3 separate regions of the Homo sapiens genome follow, and regions 2 and 3 are each linked to region 1. The links are contacts of gene promoters, found by promoter capture Hi-C in blood cells and fetal thymus (Javierre and others, 2016). All regions are on one chromosome and are shown on one strand. The core of a region is centred on a gene start or on the middle of the fragment in contact, and the rest is flanking DNA. Distances in the headings are between cores, read along the strand shown.

Region 1 (3,853 bases), core at 658-3,157:
GCTGGGATTACACGCGCTAGCCACAATGCCCAGCTAATTTTTGTATTTTTAGTAGAGACGGGGTTTCACCATGTTGGCCAGGCTGGTCTTGAACTCTTGACCCCAGGTGATCTGCCCGCCTTGGCCTCCCAAAGTGCTGGGATTACAGGCGTGAGTCACCGCACCTGGCCAGAAATCTCATTTTCTATCTTAACACTTACACTGGCTTGTTGTATAGCCAGGCGCAGTGGCTCACACCTGTAATTCCATCACTTTGGGAGGCCGAGGTGGGCAGATCACTTGAGGTCAGGAGTTCGAGACTACCCTGTCCAACATGGTGAAATCCCATCTCTACTAAAAATACAAATATTAGCTGGGCATGGTGGCAGGCACGTGTAATCCAAGCTACTAGGGAGGCTGAGGCAGGAGAATCACTTGAACCCAGGAGGCGGAGGTTGCAGTGAGCCAAGATCTTGCCACTGCACTCCAGCCTGGAAGACAGGGCAAGACTCCCTCAAAAAAAAAAAAAAAAAAAAAAATCTCAAAATTGTGGCTAAAGCTCCTCCTCTTGACAACAAACGCCACCTCTAGGCCCAAGGCATTTAAGAGACTTTGCTGCTCTATTTCCCAGACTGGAATTTTCTGTTCATTCAGATATTAAATTCAGAATCTAAATCACTAAGTGAGTAGTCCTTGGAAGGACAGCCCTCTGCACCCCCACATGCATCCCACAATTGGGAGGAGTGGAGAGGCCTTCACAAAGCTAATGAAAATGTAATAATAAACTTTAGATCTATCAAATACCTGGGCCGACCTGGTTAGCCTTGTAACTGGATTGTTTCAACTCTAGCTAGATGTATATTAAAGACTCAAAACTTAGAAACAATAGTAACAATTTCATCTTTAAAAACAATTTTTTTACACTGTAATTCTTCTGTCCCTTCTTTCACTAACTGAAAAAAAAAAAAAAAAGGAGCAACAGGAGACAATTCCTCTACTTTGACCCATGGCAAAGCCAGGCCTGCAGTGAATCAAAACAAATAATTTTTCTCTTTGTCACTTAAAAACTAACTTAAAAATAACTTCAAAATACGAAAAAAGATAACTGGGGCAAGAAAGGGGCTTTTGTCACTTTGACAATTATATTCCTAATTCCCCCTAGCCTTGACCCGCATTCCAAGGCCCCGACAAGGTGTAAAGCCCTGCCTTTCTGATAGTCACTCCTCCCCTACAGTAATCAATCTATCAACCTTATTTTCAGATAAACAAGGAAGGCGAAGGGAGTGACTAGGGGATCTTATTTACTACAATCTAACCTCAGACATGCCCAGCCAGCTCCCAAAACAGAAACAAAAATCAAACTTGTCACAATTGAGAAAAATATAAAATCAACCTTCAAAAGTACACCTCACGCCCGGCCATGTCAACCAAACATTTTGCCCACTCGGGCCCCCACCTCGACACCTCTCCCCAGCCGGGGGTTCCTCACCCTTCCTTCCACCCGGACACCACCGCCACAACCCGAGGGGCAGGAGCGGAGCCTAAGAACAAAGAAGGTCCCCCAAAATCCCCCCCACGCCGGCAAAACCCGGAGCCGAATCCATTGTTTATACCACCCCACCCCCACCCCCGCCGCACCCGCCCCCCCTTCCTCCCGAGGGCAGCCTGAGCCCCAGGACGATCACTCGCCCCGCGCTGGGCCGTGCCCTCCCCGCCCTGCCCTGCCCGCCGCGGCCCGGGGATCCCACCACTGAGAAGCTCGGCCGCAGCAAGGCGGCGTCGGGGGGCCGCAGGGCGCCAGTGGGGGCAGAGGCTATTCCTCAGGACACCGGCAGATCCATCCTCATCTCCATCTCCGCCACCCTCCTCCTTCGTTGCCTCCCGGGCTTCCTCCTCTCCTGTTGTCAGTTGGGATCAGCTGATCGGAGTGAACTTCTCCCAGCTCGGACTAACAGGAAGGCGTGAGCGGTGCAGCCCAGAAAGGGAGGAGCGAGAGAGGGAGGATCCCGGCGCCAGCAAGGGCGTAGTGCGCACTGCCTCCTGGGAGATGTAGCTCCTCGAGGCGCGCTCTCGCCCCTCATCCCGGAAAGGAAGACTCTGAATGACTACAACTCCCAGTACTGAAGAGGCTGCTCTTGCGAGGAGGCGGTGGGGACAGGCTACGGAGGATTTCGGGACTTGGAGTTTTTGCATTGAGTGTGGTGTCCGCAGGTTTCAGCACGTTCTTTTGGGTTGTAACTGGGGAAGGCATGGTGCTACATTAGAGAACTGATGTAATAATGTCTAGTATAAGTGGGAAATGGTGAGTCAATTAATTTGGATTCAAGTAACCTCTTGCACACCATTCCCTCAGAAACGTGTGAGCACAGACAGTCTCCACCTTCCCAATTTCACTTCGCAAAAACTAAGGAAAAGACCAGAAAAAGTGATAAGAGGATATAGGTACTCTTGGGAAGTTTTTGTTGTTTTTCCCCCCTTGGCAAAGGACAAAATTACAACGAATTTAGTTTTAAGATCTCAGTTGGCTTTATTGCGACTCTAGGATCAGGCAACACTTCATTCCAGAAAGTGGAGTGAATGTTCTGATGAGCTGAGCAGGAGAGGTTGGCTTTGTAGACAGAGAAAAGCTTGAGGAAGCAAAAGCAAAGAACAAAGAGCATATTGGTTTCTTTCTTTCTCTTTCTTGTCATTCTTTTCTTTCCTCTTTCTTCTCTTTTTTTCAGTCTTCTCATGGGACCTTGACATATTGGTCACTTCTAAGCTACTTTCCTTGGAAGGTGAGGACAGAGAGACAGAACAATAGAAAAATAACTGATTAGTTGACATCAGTTACTTCAGGCTACTTCTTTTGTGTAAGGATTACAACAGAGGGAGCTTCATTATCATGCAACATTAAAACAAGCCTGTTTGGGAAACTGGCTGTCCTTATCCCTCTTTCCTGATTTCTCTGAAGGTCAGATAACAACTTAGCTTGGGTTTGGTAACAACTTAGTTTGGATTTGGTGAGGTGAAACTTTAGCATGGGTGACTCCATTTTTATTTTAGCCAGGTCTATTGGGGCCTGGTGCAGGAGTTTAGTCCAAAACAAAGGCCTCCTATCATTTTTACTTAACACCCTTCAAGGGTATTCTCCAAGCCAACCATGAATTTTTTTTCCTACCTATTATTTTTCTGATCTTTCCTTCTATAGTTTCAGAACTTCTCAGGCTGGGCGCGGTAGCGCATGCCTGTAATCCCAGCACTTTGGGAGGTCGAGGTGGACGGATCACCTGAGGTCGGGCGTTCGAGACCAGCCTGACCAACATGGAGAAACTCCATCTCTACTAACAGATACAAAATTAGCCGGGCGTGATGATGCATGCCTGTAATCCCAGCTACTCGGTAGGCTGAGGCAGGAGAATTGCTTGAACCTGGGAGGCAGAGGTTGCAGTAAGCCGAGATCACGCCATGGCACTCCAGCCTGGGCAACAAGAGGGAAACTCTGTCTCAAAAAAAAAAAAAAAAAAAAGCTATTATACTTTCAGAACTTCTCAATTTGAAATTATCTTTGAGGGCCAGGCACGGTGGCTCATGCCTGTAATCCCAGCACTTTGGGAGGCCAAGGAGAGCGGATCATGAGCTCAGGAGTTCAAGACCAGCATGGCCAACATAGTGAAACCTCATCTCTACTAAAAATACAAAACATTAGCTGGGTGTGGTGGTGTGCACCTGTAATCCCAGCTACTCGGGAGGCTGAGGCAGGAGAATCACATGAACCCGGGAGGCAGAGGTTGCAGTGAGCCAAGATCGCACCATTGCACTCCAGCCTGGGCAACAGTGCAAGACTCTGTCTCAAACAAGAAAAAAAAAAAAAGAAAGAAATTTTCTTTGCGTT
Region 2 (3,853 bases), core at 1-2,500, 450 kb after region 1:
ATGAAATGACAAATTCAAAGATAGAGGGGCTGAGAAAGTGCTCATACAGAATTATTCATTGTCTTGAATGTCTCATAGTAGCCAGATCCCAGAATCCTCAGGTTAGATGCGGAAGTAACTTTGATCCATGTGATAGTGCTTTTTAGATTAGTATTTCACTTAAAGGGAAAGTGTAAAGTAATACACATTCCATGGGTTACATGAGTCAAGGAAAGGGAAGAGTTTCTGTTACGAAGTTAGCTCATATCCCCAAAGACCCCCCCACCACCGTGTTTCATAGCAGTCAGGAATTTATAGAAGAAAATATTGCGTGCGCTCTCTCACTCTCTCTCTCTCTCTCTCCATATATATATATATATATATATATATATATATATATATATATATATTTTTTTTTTTTTTTTTTTTTTTTTTTTAGATGGTGGAGCCTTACTCTGTCGCTCAGGCTGGAGTGCAGTGGCGAGATCTCGGCTCAATGCAACATCCGCCTCCCAGGTTCAAATGATTCTCCTGCCTCAGTCTCCGGAGTAGCTGGGATTACAGGTGCCTGCCACCATGCCCCGCTAATTTTTGTATTTTTAGTAGAGACGGGGTTTCACTATGTTGGCCAGGCTGGTCTCGAAATCCTGACCTCAGGTGATCTGCCTGCCTCGGCCTCCCAAAGTGCTGGGATTACAGGCATGAGCCTCCATGCCCGGCCTTGCTTTTTATATTTTTGACAATAACAGAGCCACGGGAAGAAAGGATGTGATTAGGGGAAGAAAAAAGGGGAGAGGTTCATGTTGTCTTTATTTTCATTAATGAATGTCTCAAACATTTTAGGGTATAAATAGCAATCAGTATTTAGGAAAGGAAGCTGGATTCACACTACTTGGAAATCTGGGTCTTTACTCATCCATGGCAATTTTTGGGTATCATGTGCTCTTACAGAATCTCATCTTATGATATAGATTCAGTTTACAGCTATTCTATGATGCTTGAGTATTTCAAATATTAAGTACATTGAGGCTCATGAGAATTGCTAATCTGCCGTGTGAAACTGCAGAGTTGTTTCCCAAGGGTAGAGATGCATTCACATCCACCCACATAGTACAAAGGGGGAAATGATTACGCTGGCCTGGATTTTTTGTAATAGTCCCGTGACATGGCTTCCACATTGCTCTGTGGGCTGTGGTTAAAGAACCTAATCTAGAACAAGACAAGACTTGTAGATTTAAAAAGTCACCTAAGCTGTTTCTTTCCTAGACAAATGGGATTCTAGTTTGGGTTTTATTTTATTTTATTATTTTTTGAGACAGTCTCATTCTGTCATCCAGGCTGGAATGCTGTGGCGCAATCTCGGCTCACTGCAAACTCTGCCCCCTGGGTTCAAGCTATTCTCCTGCCTCAGCCCACCTAGTAGCTGGGATTACAGGTGTGTGCCACCACACTCAGCTAATTTTTTTGTATTTTTAGTAGAGACGAGGTTTCACCATGTTAGCCAGGATGGTTTCAAACTCCTGGCCTCATGTGATTCACCCACCTTGGCCTCTCAAAGTGCTGGGATTATAGGCATAAGCCACAGTGCCCAGCCCTAATTTGAGTTTCAGAGGGCAATTTGTACCGTTTGGAAAAGATGCTGGATCCTTCAATATTACTGCTTTAGAAAGATTTGGAACTCTGACCCATATTTAGTACATGACCTTTCTGGGGCGTGGAAAAATATGCTCTGTCATCTAATGTGATGTCAATTTTCTTTAACCTTCCATGTAAATAGTGCGCATTAAGACATGAGGTCTACTGTTAAATAATTTCTCTTTATAAACATAGTGACAACAAGATTGTACAGTATCAATTAAAAAGACCCAATGTGACCAGGTCCACTGCTTCCTGCATCTTGAAGTAAGACAAGTGTTCAGCTTAGAGATGAGCACCTTTCTTTCCAGAGGGAGAAGACATGATGGGAGAAAAAAATGTTCTCTCTGAGAATTTACCCAGATAAAGAGCTGGGTAGTCGGATCTAAATGGTCCCACAGCAATCCTTTTCTCGGGGGAGGTGCGTAGATCTTTGACAAGTGATGAACGAACTTTGCTTCGTGTGGTTAGGCCTGGGACTGAACTTTGTAACCAGGGATTTGGTGCGCGGGGCTTCACAGGCTGCAGAGAAACATGAAAACATGAGTGCATATGCCAAACGTGTCTCATGTGAGCGGCAGAGCCCAAGTGAAGGCCTCTTTGGCTATAGGGTGTCTCCTTTTTTTTTTTCTTTTTGAGACGGAGTCCCACTCTGTCGCCCAGGCTGGAGTTCAGTGGCGCAATCTCGGCTTACTGCAATCTCCGACTCCCGGGTTCAAGTGATTCTCTTGCCTCAGCCTCTGAAGCAGCTGGGATTACAGGCGCCCGCCACCACGCCCAGCTAATTTTTTTGTTTGTTTGTTTGTTTTTTTTGAGACGGAGTCTCACACTCTCTCCCAGGCTGGAGTGCAGTGGCGCCATCTCGGCTCACTGCCAGCTCCGCCTCCCGGGTTCACGCCATTCTCCTGCCTCAGCCTCCCGAGTAGCTGGGACTACAGGCGCCCACCACCACGCCCAGCTAATTTTTTGTATTTTTAGTAGAGACGAGGTTTCACCGTGTTAGCCAGGAGGGTCTCAATCTCCTGACCTTGTGACCAGCCCGCCTCGGCCTCCCAAAGTGCTGGGATTACGGTGTCAGCCACTGCGCCCGGCGTTTTTTTTTCTTTCTTTCTTTCTTTCTTTTTTTTTTTTTTTTGAGACGGAGTTTCGCTCTTGTTGCCCAGGCTGGGGTGCAATGGTGCGATCTCGGCTCACCGCAACCTCTGCCCCCAGAGTTCAAGGGATTCTCCTGCCTCAGCCTCCCAAGTAGCTGGGATTACAGGCATGCGCCACCACACCCTACTAATTTTGTATTTTTAGTAGAGACAGCGTTTCTCCATGTTGGCCAGGCTGGTCTCGAACTCAGGTGATCCGCCGGCCTCGGCCTCCCAAAGTGCTGGGATTACAGGCATGAGCCTCCGCTCCCGGCCACGCCCAGCTAATTTTTTTGTATTTTTAGTAGAGACAGGGTTTCACCATGTTGGCCAGGCTGGTCTTGAACTCCTGACCTCATGATCTGCCTGCCTCAGCCTCCCAAAGTGCTGAGATTACAGGCGTGAGCCACCATGCCCAGAGATTATTCTTTAATTAATCTCAAAAGCCTAACACCAGGGTAGTCTCTCTCAGCCTACTCTGGCTTGAAAAGCTGCCCATTAAAAAATAAAAATAAAAGCCTAACACCAGAGTTCGATATATGTTCACTCACACATTTGTAGAAGGAACACAATATCTCTTATAATATTCTTTACTTCACTAATAAGTTATAATTTCAGCTATACATTATATGGCGTTATTACTAGTTAAGTAATAAAACCAATGTATTATTTATCTTGTTTTTCATTTCTTAAAAAATGAATAATTGGCTGGGCACGGTGGCTCACACCTGTGATCCCAGCACTTTGGGAGGCCAAGGCAGGCAGCTCACTTGAGGTCGGGAGTTCAAGACCAGCCTGGCCAACATGGTGAAACCCCATCTCTACTAAAAATACAAAAATTAGCCAGGCATGGCGCAGATGCCTGTAATCTCAGCTACTCGGGAGGCTGAGGCAGAAGAATCGCTTGAACCAGGAGGCAGAGGTTGCAGTGAGCCAAGATTGCGCCACTGTACTCTAGCCTGGGCGACAGAGAGAGACTTTGTCTCAAAATAAAAAAAGATTAATCAATTATAATGGACCATATTATTTTAATTTTAATTTTCAAGATTTATTCTTATATTTGTTATATTTATTTTTAATATTTTATTATGTTTTTTGAATATTGT
Region 3 (3,853 bases), core at 853-3,352, 430 kb after region 1:
GTAAGTGGTTCTTAAAGTGTGGTCCTCTGACCAACGTGATCATCATTTGAGATAAATATAAATTATTGGGCCCCACCCCAGACCTACTGAAACCCCCAGGTGGGGCCAAGCAATCTACATTTTACCAAGCCCTCCAGGTGATTTTGATGCAAGCTAACATCTGCGAGCCAGGTCTTTACCTTCTATTTAAGAAGTCAGGTCTTTATCGTCTATTGAACAATCCAGTACACACGACTATGTGCCAGTCACTATCCTAAAAGCTCTACAAATACCAACTCACATGAAAAAAAAAACACCACCACCACCTTATAAAGTAGGAACTATTACTATTAGTATTCTGATGAGGAAACTGCACAGAAACTTAGCTAAGTGGTGGAACTAGAACTCAAAACTTCTTTTCACTTTAGCCGAGTATGCCTACCCTCTTTCTGATAAGTATTTACTTCTACTCCTTTAGTTCAGCTACTCCTCCCCTTTTCCCTCCCAAATTCCCCACCCTGTCAATGAACCTATTTCCTAATATTACTGCCATCATCCTAAAACAAATTTCTTTTCTAAAACAAGTCACTTAACCTTGCTTTTAGGAGCTTTGCTTTGGTCCTAGATGTCATCTTGATATTAATTACGAAACTGAAGTTTCTTCTATTTGTGAAGACCTGTGAACCTACATGGCTCCACTGTTAATTTCTCATATATCTACTGTCCTAGCCAGTTCCACGAAACCATTACTCTCTCCTCGGGCAACTTTCTTTCTCTACCTTATCCCCTCCTATAGGGATTCTCTCCCACCTCCGCCCATCTCCGTCCCATTTTGCATGACTCCTCTCCGACCGAGGGAACTTCCACTCCCCTGCTGGCTCCTCACCCCGGTCTCAAACGCGAGCCACTCCTCGAGGACTTCTTTCCTGGTCCCTTAGGGATCCTCAGAGCCGGAGCGGCCAGGCCAGTTGGGTCTCCCATCCCAGCTCAGCTATGGGGGCGCAGGGAGCTCCGGTTCTTCCCCCAGGCGGTGCAAGATCTCTACTCGTCCGACCCTCCGAAGACCTGCTGCTCCTCATCTCTCCAGGAGCCCCCTCCCTTGGACAGCCGCTTTTCTCAGGAGGGTCCCCAACCCCCTCCGAGCGTTTCCTCAGACGCCCCTACTTGGAGCAAGTCTGCTCCCTGTCACCCGGGACCCTGGCCACCCTCGGCCTTCCTACCTCCCTCGGACCGGGGCCACTCCCAGTTCCCCTGCCCCCCACCCCGCTCTCTCCTCACCGGCCGCTGCCGGGCTTCCCGGATTCCTTTTCTCCCTGGCACCCAAGCCGTCCTGGGTATTCCCAAGACACCCCGCCCTTGAAGCAGGTCGTTACAGGTCACCCCCTCTCTGGGACCCTGGCCGCTTCCGTTTCCTCAGATACCTACTCCTCACACAGTGGCCGCCGGTCAGCGCGCTAGACCGGAGCAGCTGGACGTCCCAAGGGACCTCCTGGCCTGACCCGCGCGGGTCCGGCCGTAGCCTACCTTCCTCGGGAGAACTCCGCAGCCAGAAGCCCAGCCCCTCTCCCCCTAGCCCAGTCAGCGCGAACTCGCCGCCGCCCCCGCCGCCTCCGCCCTGGCCCCGGCCCCGGCCCGGGCCCCGACCCGAAGTCCAGGCCCCCTTCCTCCGGCCTCCGCCTCCGGAGTGCTGAGCTGGAGATTCCGCCCCGCGACGGCCCCCAGATCTCTGACCCGCGTTACCGGCACTCACCTGCCGCTGCCCCCGACCAACTCAAGCGCCACTGCCTCTACCTCGGCCGCCAGTGGCCACCAAGCGCCACCACCTCCCCCATGACAACAGGCCCACCCTCTTTCATACTTCTAACCTATCCATTGGATAGTGGGGCGGCAGCTCTCCTCTCTGATTGGTTTAGTATACCCGCCCGTCATCGCTCTTTACCGCCCCTTTTCCTAAACCCGGTATTCGCCCCCGCCCGGACCTGGAGCGTCCTAGCCCAAGCTTTAGTTGTAATTGGTTGAGGGTTGGGCAATTCGAAGTTATGATAGGCTGCTAAAAGTGTCTGTTAAGCTAACTGGCAAGAGACGTGACGGTTAAGGTTGATTCACGCTTGTGCACAGTTTGGTTGCGCAGTAGAAAGCAAAGGAGGGGCAGACGCTCACATTCGTGGTTACCCGGGAAGGGTTAAGTCTTTGTTGTAGAGTTTTCTCTGTAAACTTTTCCACTTCTCCAGCTCACTTCCTGCAAGGAGAAGCTTATCTCTGCTAGCTTTATTCATAGGGGTAGTACTTACAAAACACCAACATTAGAGGTTGTGTTTAAGAAGTGTTTCCAAGCCCTGGGGAGAAAGGTATCAGAGAGATAAAAATGTCCCCTTCTTTTCTTTGGTCTCAATGCATCCAATTTCATTGAAGTTCTTTCCAGGAGCCTCAATGCTAAAGGGCAAAGCGCAAACTTTCATTTAGCAGAAATCAGTCAACTTCGGTTGCAATTATAAATGTCGTCAATAAACTGAAGTGGCGTATTGAGAGTTCTCCAGCTTCCAGATCCACTCCTGGCTGACCCCTGCCAATTGACCAGACAGCCATTAGCAACTTTTTTTTTTTTTTTTTTTTTCTGTGAGACGGAGTTTCTCTCTTGTTGCCCAGGCTGGAGTGCAATGGTGCTATCTCGGCTCATCGCAACCTACGCCTCCCAGGTTCAAGCGATTCTTCTGCCTTAGCCTCCCGAGTAGCTGGGATTATAGGCATGAGACGGGGTTTCTCCATGTTGGTCAGGCTAGTCTCGAACTCCCAACCTCAGGTGATCCGCCCGCCTCGGCCTCCCAAAGTGCTGGTATTACAGGCGTAAGCCACCGCGCCCGGCCAGCAACTTTCTAATAAGCGGGCCACATTATACCCTTTATGATGCTCTGGAAATGAGAATTCTGCTTTCCCCCACCTCTCACTGCCACTTTGTTTTTCTGTTCAGCAGTTCTTAAATAGCCCTACTAGCTGTGTGTCAGATACTTTAAAAGCTTCTCTCTCTCTCTCTCTTTTTTTTTTCTAAACCTCTTCCTAGCAGTCTAAATTAGGGCCATTGAATGAATTGCCGGGTTGTGTGTGTGTGTGTTTTTTTTTTTTCCTCACTTGGCACAATGCACAAGAATAAATGATTGCATTTTTTATTCACTTGGGTACAAATCACAGTAGGCATTTTTGAGAAATCTAATGTTGCTATAAAAACTCTTGTGCTCCTAGAAATATATTCATCATTAGCTTTTTGTTTTTCCTTTTTTTTCACCCACTTTTCCTGCTCCTAAATAACAAAATGCTGGTCTGATTACTCTTTCAGTTTCTAAATCAGATTTAAATGTACTTTCTCACAACCCCACCTATGATACATATACCCATGGGCCATGAAACAACACCCAGGGATAGTTTAAGACACTGTCAGGCCGTGCGGTGGCTCATGCCTGTTATCCCAGCACTCTGGGAGGCCGAGCCGGGCAGATCACCTGAGGTCAGGAGTTTGAGACCAGCCTGACTAACATGGTGAAACCCCTGTCTCTGCAGATGGTGCCACTGCACTCCAGCCTGGGCAACAGAGTGAGACTCTGTCTTAAAAAAAAAAAAAAAAAAAGACACTGTCAAGGAGGCATTCACCTCAAGGATGTGGACTTTGGAAATGTGCTTTGTCTCTTTCTTCTTTCTGCTAACCCTTTGTCTCATATTTCTTCTATTTACTAACCTCCTTGTTCTTTGCAGAGCAAGCTACAAAGAGTCTAAAACTGTATGGTTTATTATTCAGAAAAATATTGTCTTTTTTCTAGCCTATATTTTTAGTCAAGTTTAAATAAAGTACATACTTCTATCACCAGACTAAGCAGAAATTATT

Evidence for each region. Contacts are between HindIII fragments. The CHiCAGO score rates a contact against its expected background, and 5 or more counts as called.
Region 2: a contact is called between a fragment that was not itself captured here and the fragment with the promoter of ZFYVE1 in region 1, in 2 of 17 cell types (neutrophils and total CD8 T cells). The highest score is 5.1, in neutrophils.
Region 3: a contact is called between a fragment that was not itself captured here and the fragment with the promoter of ZFYVE1 in region 1, in 2 of 17 cell types (naive CD4 T cells and total CD8 T cells). The highest score is 6.1, in naive CD4 T cells.

The regions. Positions count from the first base shown.
Region 1 is chr14:73,025,199-73,029,051 of GRCh38, forward strand. ZFYVE1 (zinc finger FYVE-type containing 1) reads right to left here and starts at 1,908. Exons shown (of 12, transcript NM_021260.4): 1 at 1,728-1,908. RefSeq lists a silencer at 1,611-1,820 and an enhancer at 2,051-2,250. The HindIII fragment of the contact is 5,815 bases long and covers 1-2,604 here.
Region 2 is chr14:73,476,707-73,480,559 of GRCh38, forward strand. It overlaps HEATR4 (HEAT repeat containing 4), which reads right to left. Exons shown (of 18, transcript NM_001220484.1): 18 at 1,778-2,136. The coding sequence ends at 1,900. Among named protein-coding and RNA genes, the nearest start is that of RIOX1, 12 kb to the right of the region's middle. The HindIII fragment of the contact is 5,334 bases long and covers 1-3,853 here.
Region 3 is chr14:73,456,764-73,460,616 of GRCh38, forward strand. It overlaps NUMB (NUMB endocytic adaptor protein), which reads right to left and starts at 1,783. Exons shown (of 13, transcript NM_001005743.2): 1 at 1,730-1,783. RefSeq lists silencers at 1,507-1,636, 1,647-1,736, 1,927-2,126 and enhancers at 2,112-2,645, 2,646-3,179. The HindIII fragment of the contact is 253 bases long and covers 1,977-2,229 here.